4 separate regions of the Homo sapiens genome follow, and all the other regions are linked to region 1. Evidence: promoter capture Hi-C in human tissues and cell types (Jung and others, 2019). All regions are on one chromosome and are shown on one strand. Each heading gives the region's core, a stretch centred on a gene start or on the middle of the fragment in contact. The rest is flanking DNA. Distances are from core to core; before and after follow the strand shown. Region 1 holds the start of LRRTM3 (leucine rich repeat transmembrane neuronal 3). Region 2 overlaps CTNNA3 (catenin alpha 3). Region 3 overlaps CTNNA3 (catenin alpha 3). Region 4 overlaps CTNNA3 (catenin alpha 3).

What was found. Contacts are between HindIII fragments. The study calls those that stand out against the background at their distance.
Region 2: a contact is called between a fragment that was not itself captured here and the fragment with the promoter of LRRTM3 in region 1, in 2 of the 25 tissues and cell types used here (H1 embryonic stem cells and heart left ventricle).
Region 3: a contact is called between a fragment that was not itself captured here and the fragment with the promoter of LRRTM3 in region 1, in 1 of the 25 tissues and cell types used here (hippocampus).
Region 4: a contact is called between a fragment that was not itself captured here and the fragment with the promoter of LRRTM3 in region 1, in 2 of the 25 tissues and cell types used here (heart left ventricle and mesendoderm cells).

The regions. Positions count from the first base shown.
Region 1 is chr10:66,924,661-66,927,391 of GRCh38, reverse strand. LRRTM3 (leucine rich repeat transmembrane neuronal 3) reads right to left here and starts at 1,356. Exons shown (of 3, transcript NM_178011.5): 1 at 805-1,356; 2 at 1-471. The coding sequence starts at 808. The region is part of intron 7 of CTNNA3 (catenin alpha 3); the gene reads left to right. All of the region lies in intron 3 of LOC101928961 (a long non-coding RNA gene), which reads left to right. RefSeq lists a silencer at 1,384-1,493 and an enhancer at 1,113-1,969. The HindIII fragment of the contact is 13,899 bases long and covers 1-2,731 here.
Region 2 is chr10:66,510,211-66,512,941 of GRCh38, reverse strand. All of the region lies in intron 11 of CTNNA3 (catenin alpha 3), which reads left to right. Among named protein-coding and RNA genes, the nearest start is that of LRRTM3, 410 kb to the left of the region's middle. The HindIII fragment of the contact is 5,099 bases long and covers 1-2,731 here.
Region 3 is chr10:66,579,677-66,582,407 of GRCh38, reverse strand. All of the region lies in intron 10 of CTNNA3 (catenin alpha 3), which reads left to right. Among named protein-coding and RNA genes, the nearest start is that of LRRTM3, 340 kb to the left of the region's middle. The HindIII fragment of the contact is 4,956 bases long and covers 1-2,731 here.
Region 4 is chr10:66,620,691-66,623,421 of GRCh38, reverse strand. CTNNA3 (catenin alpha 3) reads left to right here. Exons shown (of 18, transcript NM_013266.4): 10 at 1,638-1,730. Among named protein-coding and RNA genes, the nearest start is that of LRRTM3, 300 kb to the left of the region's middle. The HindIII fragment of the contact is 3,367 bases long and covers 1-2,731 here.

The sequences.
Region 1 (2,731 bases), core at 107-2,606:
GCTTCCGCAAGCCCCGAAACTGTTCAGATCCCAGAGAATGCAGCTGATTATAGGACAGATCCAAGTTCCGTAAATTTGTCACAGGTCTGAAGGTATTGTTAAGAAAATAGGAGATTCTATTGGAACTAAGAATCAGCTCTTTGAGTCTGCGTATTCCATTAAAAGCATTTTCGTCAATATTGCTGATATGGTTATGGTCAAGGTATAGCCAGGTGAGCTGGTTGAGCCCTTTAAATTGATTATACTTAAGTTTTTGAAGGCTGTTATAGCGAAGGGACAAACCTAAGCAACCAGCAGATATACTTGAGGGTATCTCCTGTAATTTCTGAGATTCACAATATACCATTTTGCCTTCACACCTACAGCCCTTAGGGCATCCTCGTTCGGCAGAAGAAAGCATTGTCAGTAAGACAGTGGGGGCTATAACCAGTGCTACAGCTGATCCGCTCAGTAGCCTAATTACATTGAAACCTGGAAATAAAAACAACTTAGAAAAGTTATCCCCCCAAAAAAGAATTAATCCTTAATCAAGCAAAAATAGGCATATATTTTTCATTTTTAAAAATTTAAATCTAAATAACACTTAACATCACATATTATCTCTTTGTAATTAAAGAGAATTGTCTTTAGTGTTTTGTTTTTTTAAATAGTTAAACAAGGAAACATGCCACTAAGCAAATAAATTCATAGTCTTAGAGCAGAGCAAGGTAATCTCTAAAATAATTAAGGCAGAATTATTACACACACTAGAGGTTTTTTGTTTTTTGTTTTTAAGAAGGAAAGAAGAAAAATGACAAAACATACCCATCCTTTGTATTGTTCAAAGGTCGTCCTTAGGTCTTTTGCTTTGGCTTAGGGGCCAGTTGCATGACAGCCCCTGTCAGCTGCACTGTAGTGAGTCAGGGCTCGCTGACACCCAGGAAGAAAAATTGGACCCCTTGGGAGATGGACCGATTTTGGAACATTATTCTTTGCCAGCCACGCAGAACACTCCAAGAACAAATAAATCCCAACACCGCATTCGCAGCAAAACATCAAAATCTTCCTAGGTAATAGGATCTTCATGGATATTACGTTTTTGCATCTTTACAGTTTTTTGGGGGGTGGGGAGGGGGCGGTTAAAAAAAAAACTGGATCCTACAATTTCTTCTTATCGAAAAACATGATGTATTCTTCCAGGCAATTTGGGGCTACCTGAGCTGCCACATCTGTATTCCATACCCCAGCAGTTCCCGTGATGAGCACCCAGTTCAGCCACAGAGCTGCGTTGGAGCCCAGAAGGCAGGAGAGCCCCGTACCGCGCACACGCTCAGCTCACTTCTGCAGACTGTCATTCTGAAAGCTGCTCGGACTGTTGCTTTGGTTTCAGTGAATGCAGTCTTATGTAAAGCTGCCCCCAGTGGTGAAGAACATTATGGGCATGTGCAGAAATGTCTCTCTTTTATCTTGCAAATGAGCAGGCTCTCTGCTGGAAAATGAATGATTCTTTTGGGTGGCTCAGTAGGAACTGAATGGTCACCGTGATCAATAACTAGCAACATTTTCTGTGATTTCCAAGTCTTGTTTTACAATTTGGCAACGTCTTTATTGTCTGTGTCCACTTAATTGCTAAACATGTGCTGCCCAGAGTTTTTCTGGAGCTTGACATTAAGTTCACAGACCGAACGTCAATTTTTCTTAACCTCAACGCAGGCTTTAAACTGAAATTTATAAAATGAATTATTGAGCTTTTCACAGAGAAGCATTAACTGCCTGCCCATTTGACCTCTTGGAGTCACAGTGATTATATTATGCAAGGTGTCTCAGGATGTTAGAACACAAACATTTTGGAATAGAGGGGATGACTGATGACAAGTGAATTAATGTGTCCAATAGCCTTTCCGGTTTTCTCACAGACGATATAATTGATTTTATGGCTATAGTTTCGTTTGTTGTTTTGGTTGTTGTAATTCTCTTTTAATTAGAAGGGAAATAAACCATTTTTAGTGTTAGGATACGAATCAAGAGATCATTTGGTTCATACTTTATTGATGTTGCTGCTATTTATTACACTAATAATATTTATGGAGCACTTTCTAAGTGCTTTAAATGGGCTACGTTGTTTTCTCTTTAAACAATAGTATGATGTGGGTCCTATTATAACCTCTCTTTTAAAGATGAGGAAACAGACTTGGGGAGGTAACTTTCTCAAGGTCATACAGCAAGCGAGTGCTAGAGCTGAGCTTCAGAAGCGAGTCATTCTTATGCCGAACCACTAACCACTAGATGATCCTGTTCAACAACATTGTTATCTTCATTTAAAAAAGAAGTCAGTGAAAATGAAGCCGATTAAAGGATTGGGGCAAGGAAGCTGTGATTAGCAAATTCTTGCTTGTTCTATTAGAATTGCCTAAATTTCTTTTGGTCTGAGGTTCCTAAAGAAGTATAAAAACTAAGGCAGCGTAGTTTAGTGATTAACAGCATAGATTTTGGCACCTAGATTCCAACTCCTGGCTACAATTTACCAGCTATGTAACCTTAAGCGCGTTACTTACCTTCCCTATGCCTCAGTTTTCTCATCTGCAAAACGGGCATAAAAACAAAAACTCACTTCATGTTTTGAGAATTAAGTCATTTTAATATCTGTATGTTACTTAGAACAGTGTGTTGCATGCAATAAGCCTGTGTAAGATATTTGAATAATATTAACTTTATTTGTACTTGCTAGGATTACGTACTGAATATTGACTAT
Region 2 (2,731 bases), core at 149-2,648, 410 kb after region 1:
AAAGGGAATTCTAAAAACACCAAAAGAAAGCATCAAGTCACATATGAGGGTATCTTTGTCCGACTAACAGCAGATTTCTCAGAAGAAACTTACAAGCTAGGAGAGGATAGGATGATATATTCAGATTGCTGGAATAAAAAAAAGAAAAAACTTTCAACTAAGAATACTATAAACCATAAAGCTATTCTTTAGAAATGAAGGAGACATAAAATTTTCCCAGACATACAAAGACTGAGGGAATTAATCACTGTTAAACTGAACCTACAAGAAATGCTTAAGGGACTCCAACCTCTGAAAGCGAAAGGATGTTATCTATCAATTAAGCAAAAGCAGATATGTGTCTATATCATTGGTAGATGTTACCTATCAATTAAGGAAAAACATGAAAGTATACAATTCACTGGTAAAGCAGATATGCAAATGAGAAAAAGAAAGGAATAAAATTTTATCACTACAGAAAACCACCAAACCACAAAAATAATAAAAGAAGAAAGGAACTAAGGCTATACAGAGCAATTACAAAACAACTAACAAAATGACAAGAATAAATCCTCATCTTATCAATAACAACCTTAAATGTAAACCGTTTAAATTCCCTAATTGAAATATATAAACTGGCTGAATTAAAAAACTGAGACCCAACTATTTGCTGCTTGTGAAACTCACTTCTCATTTAAAAACACACATAGACTATAACAGAACAGATTAAACAAGATATTTGCTGCAAATGCAAACAAAAAGTGTGCAAAAGTAGCAAACTTATATCAGACAAAATAGACTTTTATTAAAAATAAAAAGATAAAAAGACACAGAGGTCATTATATAGTGATTAAAAAATCAATTCAGCAAGAGGAAAGAACAATTGTTAATATATATCCACCGAACACCAGAGCACTCAGATATATAGGGCAAATATTATTATAGTTAAAGAGAGAGATAGAGACACCAATGTAATAATAGTTGAGAACTTTAACACCTCACCCTCCTCACCCTCAGCATTGCACAGCTAATCTATACAGAAAGTCAACAAAGAAACATTGTACTTAAGCTTCATTTTATACCAAATGAACCTAATAGACATTTACAGAACATTTTTTCCAATGGCTACAAAATGTACATTCTTCTCATCAGCAGATGGAACATTCTCTAGGGTAGACCCTATGTTAGGCCCAAAACAACTCTAAATAATTTTTTCAAAAATGCAATTATACCATGTATTCTCAGGTTTCAGTGGATTATAATTAGAAATCAATAACAAGAGGAACACTGGAAACTGTAAAAATACATAAAAATTAAACAACATTCTCCTGAATGACAAATGAGTTAATGAAGAAATTAAGAAGGAAATTTTAAATACTTCTTGAAAGAAATGAAAACAGAAACAAGACATACCAAAAAACCTATGGAACACAGAAAAAATAGTACAAGAGGGAAGTTTAAAGGAATAAGCACCTATATAAAAAAAAAAAGATTTCAAATAACCTAGTGATACACCTCAAAAAATAGAAAAGCAAGAACACGCCAAACCCAAAGTTAATAGAGGAAAATAAATAATAAAGATCAGCACAGAATGAAACAAATTAGAGGCAAAAAAGCAAACAAAAGATTCATGAAAAAAGTTAGTTTTTGAAAAGTAAACCAAATCAACAAACTATTATATAGATTAAGAAAAAGACCTAAATAAATAATATCAGAAATGAACAATGAGATATTACAACTGACACCACAAAAATACAGAGGATCATTAGAGACTGTTAGGAACAACTATACACCAACAAATTAAAAAACATAAAGGAAATGGATACATTCCTAGACACAAGTATAAAATACCAAGATTGAACCAAAAATGAACAGAATCAAACAGACCAATAACAAATAAGAAGATTAAATCAGTAACAAAAAGTCTCTCAAAAAAGAAAAGTCCAAGACCAGATGGATTCACTAATGAATTCTAGCAAACTTTTAAATAACTAACACCATTTTTTCTCAAACTATTCCAAAAAATTGAGGATTAAGAAATTCTTCCTAATTAATTCTGTGAAGCTAGCATTACCCTGATAATAAAACCAGACAAGGGCACAACAAAAAAAGAAAACTATGGGCCAATATGTCTGATGAAGATAGATTTAAACACCCTCAACCAAATACTAGAAAATAGAACCCAACAGCACGTCAAAAACATAATGAACCTAATCAAGTAGAATTTATTCCAAGGATACAAGGATAGTTCAATATATGCAAATCAATAAATGTAATGCATCACATTAACAATATAAAATTTTAAAAACATATTATCTCAATAGACAGAAAAATCTTTTAATAAAATTCATCATCCCTTTATGATAAAAAATTCTTAACAAATTAGGCATAGAGGGAATATACCTCAACACAATAAAGACCATATATGACAAACCCATGGCTAACATTATACTGAATGAAGAAATACTGGAAGCTTTTTCTCTAAGAACTGGAAGAAGACAAGGATGCTCACTTTCACTACTCTTATTCAACATAGTACTAGAAGTCCTAGCACATAACAATTAGGAAAAAGAAAGTAAGAAATTGCCATCCACATTGGAAAAGAGGAAGTCAAATTGTCCCTCTTTGCAAACAACATGTTCTCATAAATAGAAAAATGTAATGACTCTGCCAAAATACTCTTAAAACTGGCAAATGAATTCATTAAAATTTCAGGATAAAAAAAATCAACATACAAAAATAATTAGTATTT
Region 3 (2,731 bases), core at 72-2,571, 340 kb after region 1:
TTACAGTAGCTACAAAAAGATAAAATATGCTAGAACATACTTAACCAAGGAGGTGTAGTATCTCTACAAGAAAAATAAAACACGGCTGAAAGAAATTGTAGATGACAAAAGCAAATGGAAATACATTCTTTGCTCATGGGTTAGAACAATCAATATCATGAAAATGACCATACACTCCAAAGCAATCTACAGATTCAATGCAATTTCTATCAAATTACCAACACTATTTTTTACAGAATTAGAAAAATCAATCCTAAAATTCACATGGAACCAAAAAATAGCCCAAATAGTCAAAGCAACCTAAACGAAAAGAACAAATCTGGAGGCATCACATTACCTAACTTGAAATTTTACTACAAGGCTAACGTAACCAAATCAGCATGGTACTGGTATAAAAGTAGATCAATGGAATATAATAGAGATCTCAGAAATAAAGCCAAATACTTAAAACCAACTGATCTTTGATAAAACATACAAAAACATAAATCGGGGAAAGGACATTCTGTTCAATAAAGGGTGCTAGAAAAATTGCATAGTCACATGTAGAAGAAAGACAGTGGATCTCTGTCTCTCACTAGATACAAAAATTAACTTTACCTTGACTAAAGACCTAAAGACCTGAAGCTAAGACCTGAAACCATAAAAGATCTAGAAGAGTACCTAGGAAAAACTCTTCTGGACACCAGCATAGGCAAATAATTTATAACTAAGACCCCTAAAAGCAAATCCAACAAAACAAAAATAATGAATAGGACTCAAACTAAAAAGCTTCTTCACAGCAAAATAAATAATCATTACAGTAAACAGACAACTTAAAAACTGAAATGTGGACAAAAGACATGAATAGATATTTCTCAAAAAATATACAAATGGTCAAAAACATATGAATAAATGCTCAACATCACTAATTGTCAAGGAAATGCAAATTAAAACCACAATGTATACCACCTTACCCGAGCCAGAATAACCATTATTAAAAAGTCAAAAAAAAAAATCCCCAAAAGATGCTCGGGTGGACGTGGTGAAAGAGGAACACTTATATGCTGCTGGTGGAAATACACATTAGTACAACCTCTATGGAAAAGAGTATGGAGATTTCTCAAAGCTAAAAGTAGATCTACCATTTGATCCAGGAATCTCACTACTGGGTATCTACCCAAAAGAAAAGGAATGAATATATCAAAGAGATGCCTGTGTGCATATGTTTATTGCAGCACAATTCACAATTGCAAAGATATGCAGTCAACCTAAATGTCCATTAACTGATGAGTGGATAAAGAAAATGTGATGTATGTTATCATGGAATACTACTCAGCCATAAAAAGAATGGAATAATGTATTTTGTGGCAACTTGGTTGGAACTAGAGGCCATTATTCTAAGTGAAGTAACTCAGGAATTGAAAACGAGATACTGAAGGTTCTCTCTTATAAGTGGGAGCTAAGCTATGGGTATGCAAAGGCATACCAAGTGGTATAATAGACATCGAAGACTTAAAAGGGGTGAGGGGGTAAAAATGAAAAACTACCTATTGAGTACAATATGCACTATTCAGATAATGCATGCACTAATATCCTAGACTTCACCATTATACAATTCATCCATGTAACTGAGAACCACTTTTACCCCTAAAGATTACCCTCACCAGGCAGTAATGAGGCAACCCTCTTCTTCCTCTGCCAAAGCAGTTTCAGAAGAAGCCAACTAAAGCAGAAATGTGATCCAGAATTTTAAATATGATCCATAGTCTTTTAACATAATAACCAAAATGTCTCCATCTCATTCAAACATCACTTGTCATATCAAGAACCAGGAAGATCTCAAGCTGAATAAAAAAATACATTTAATAGATGACAGCGATGTTAGAATTATCTTACAAAGATTTCAAAGTAGCCATCATAAAAATGAATGAACAATCATAAACATCCTTGAACAAATGAAAAAATATCACCTATTTCAAAATTGGTTGAAGAGAAGATTTGGAATGTTCCCAACACAAAGAAATGATAAATGTTTGAGATAATCGATATTCAAATTACCTAGATTTTATTATACATTGTATGCTCATATCAAGATAGCACATGTACCCCATTAATATGTACAATTATGTAGCCATAAAAATTAAAAATAAAAATAAGCAAAGGGGAAGAATGTCACCAAAGGAGAATAAAAAAATAGAATGTTACAGCAAAGAAATCAAAGAAGAATGAAATAGAAATGTTAGAACTAAAAATATTAACCAATAAAATAATAATTTAAAAAGTCAACATATGGGCTCAATAGCTGAACAGAGGAGACAGAGAAAAGAACCAGTCCATTGAAAAATAATACAAATAGAAATTACACAATGTAAACAACAGGGACAAAATAGACTTTAAAGAAAACAAAAACAAAACACAACCTCAGAAATGTATGGGACTATAATGCAAACCCCAAACATGATAAGCCCAAAGAAATCCACATGAAATCACACCATAGACAAACTTCTGAAAATTAAAGACAAATGTTTAAAGCAGTCAGAAATAAATATCACATTCTCTGTGGAAAAAAGAACGTTCAGATGACACTGGATCTCTCATCGGAAACCAGGGAAGCCAGCAAAAATTACAATAGTTTTGAAGTGCTGAAAGAAAAAATTTTGTCAACTCAGGATCCTATATCCAGTAATAAATACTCTTCAGAAATAAAGGAGAAATCAAGAAATTCTCGGAGATGAAGGAACAATAAAATAAT
Region 4 (2,731 bases), core at 148-2,647, 300 kb after region 1:
AAAGGAAAAAGAAGAAAATGAGGATACAGTAAATATAAGTAAGTAAAATAAAAAAGTATCTACATAGGGCCAGTTTTTTATAATTTCTAAGCTTTGGGTTAACCAGCATTCTTCTAATTTGACCACATTGAGCCAATGATTTTTATTTTTATTTTTATTTTTTTACTTTAAACAAACAGTGCTCAATTTTACAGGTCAGTATTTTTTGCAAATGCAGTGTGAATTAATATAATACAAATTAAAGCAATTAGACTGTCAAGTTTCACTTTTAGTGATTGGGGTTTGGGGAGTGGAAAGGGGCACAGAAACTGTTGCCCTTTTCAAACAACTCACAAATGTGCTAATTATGTGTCAGAAATTATGAAAGTTGAGGCATTGTGACCTTCAAGCCAACAAAAGACCTTTTCAAGTAAGCCATCCCCATGTACATTAATAAAGTGAGCAATGCCCTTCCACAGTTAAATAATGTATGGCTGTTATTTCATTATATGTGAATGAAAACCGAGGAGTTATTTCACTATTGGCATATTAAAAGAAATGTTATAAAAAAGCAAAGACTGTAAATCCATTTAAATAACATTTTGTGGTACTTTTAAAATAGTGATCCAAAGTCATATGTTGTTTATTTCCACTGCATGTGGCTAATGCGTAGTTTCTCCGCAACTGGATGTATTTTAGATCTTAGCAGGAAAAACTGCAATGCGTTAAAGTATAAAACAACTGACAGAGATATTTTAAAAGTTAGAAAAATTACTGTTAGATAAAGTAAATCCTTGCAATGATAAAGACAATGAGATATTTTGTAGATCAGAGAAAACATTGCCTCTGTCCATAAGCCTTACTGTGTTAGTAAGAAGAATCTTGAACAAGAGTGGGGTGCAGAGGAAGGGAAAATAACCTCTCACTCTTCATCATGGCTCTTTCATGGTCTGAAGAAAGTATTTGTAAACCTTGGATTTAGGTCATGGACATAATGGTAATTAAAACAGCACTCATTTTGTTGGAAGAAAATGTAAATTTCAAAAGCAATAATATAAGAGAAATTTGGGTGTCACTAATGCTTGAATCAAATGCACTGCAGGAATGTCAAACAGTGCCCATGAAGTTGTAGTGGAAAATCAAGAGCAGGAAGAAGTTAATTATCTTGTATTTGTTCAGCTTTGTAGTATATTTGATGCAAACAAAATGTATAAAGATACAGTCATACTTAATGCAACTTAAATATGAGTAATAGACCTCTGGGAAATAATAAACCAATTACAAATTTAAAATAAATCACAATCATATGAGATTCCAAAAACCTATTAGCATTCAATCCACAGATAAACTTTTGTTTTTCCAGTCTCACAATAGCTTCTTATTATGGGTTAGATGTTGATACCAAGAGACTGTATAGGGTTTACTGATTCTCTCACTAGTCTCTCCTCATTTTAAACAATTATCTAGGTCCTTTTATTGTTATTTGCTTTAATAGATTCTCTGAATTCTTTCATAAAATAGATACCAGTGATGATTTTGAGAATGTTATTTGTCATTGAGATTCTTGATGAATGTGTACATGTTCTTGTTCAGTATAAGTGTTGCTGCATTTCCTTGCTAATCTAAAATAATTTCCATTATTTTGGATTGTATTTAAGGTGGCAAATCTTGCTTGTTCCATGTCAACAAATGAAGATGGAATTAAAATTGTCAAAATTGCAGCCAATCATTTGGAAACCTTGTGTCCACAGGTATGACAACTAAGTTACTTTTTGTGTGTAAAATTATATATAATTCCTAATGCTTTTATGCATATGAAAATACACTATTTTTTTTTCTTTTTTTTTTTTTGAGACCAGGTCTCGCTCTGTTGCCCAGGCTGGAATGCAGTGGCGCAATCTCGACTGACTGCAACTTCTGCTTCCTGAGTAGCTGGGATTACAGGCATGCGCCACCATGCCTGGCTAATTTCTGTATTTTTAATAGAGATGGGGTTTCACCATGTTGGCCAGGCTGGTCTCGAACTCCTGACCTCAAGTGATCTGCCCACCTCGGCCTCCCAAACTGTTGGGATTACAGGCGTGAGCCACCGTGCCCAGCCAAAATGTTTATTTGAAGCATGGAAGACAGAATTGTCCTAAGGCGATTCTTAAAAAGAGAGTAGAGAAAAAGACTGACATTCTTTAAGTGGCCATATTGGAATCTCCTGAGGCAAAGGTGCTTTGTCCAAATGATTTGATTTATTTTTAGTAATTATTTATTTTGAAATTTCAAATCAGCTGAAAGAATTGACTCTTTTTTTCTTTTATCAAAGAAGGTATCGGTTTGAAAAAAGTTAAGAAATATTTTCTTGTCGGTAATTCAGATGTTTCTTAAAATCTGAAGAGTGACACACTTTTAGGGAATTATTTCTACATGACAAATGGTTTTGAAGCCATGAATCAAGATACACATAGAGAAATTTTAAACACTCTTATCTGAGAAGAAGCAGGATATAATACGGATACTTCCTAATAAAGACCACAAATGTTATAAGGATGAGAAAAATAACAAAGATTAGGGACTTTAAGTCTCTGGACGTCTCCTGAGATTCTCAGTCTACAAAAAGTAGGGCATGTGTTAAATTATTGATTTGCCTTGCTGACAATTTCATCTCTAAGAATATTAAGGAAACTGTGAAGGAAACTGCTTCTTTGGACTTAATGTTGATTAACAAGTAAGAACAAGCTGGAAAAGTGGGATCTAGAGGACC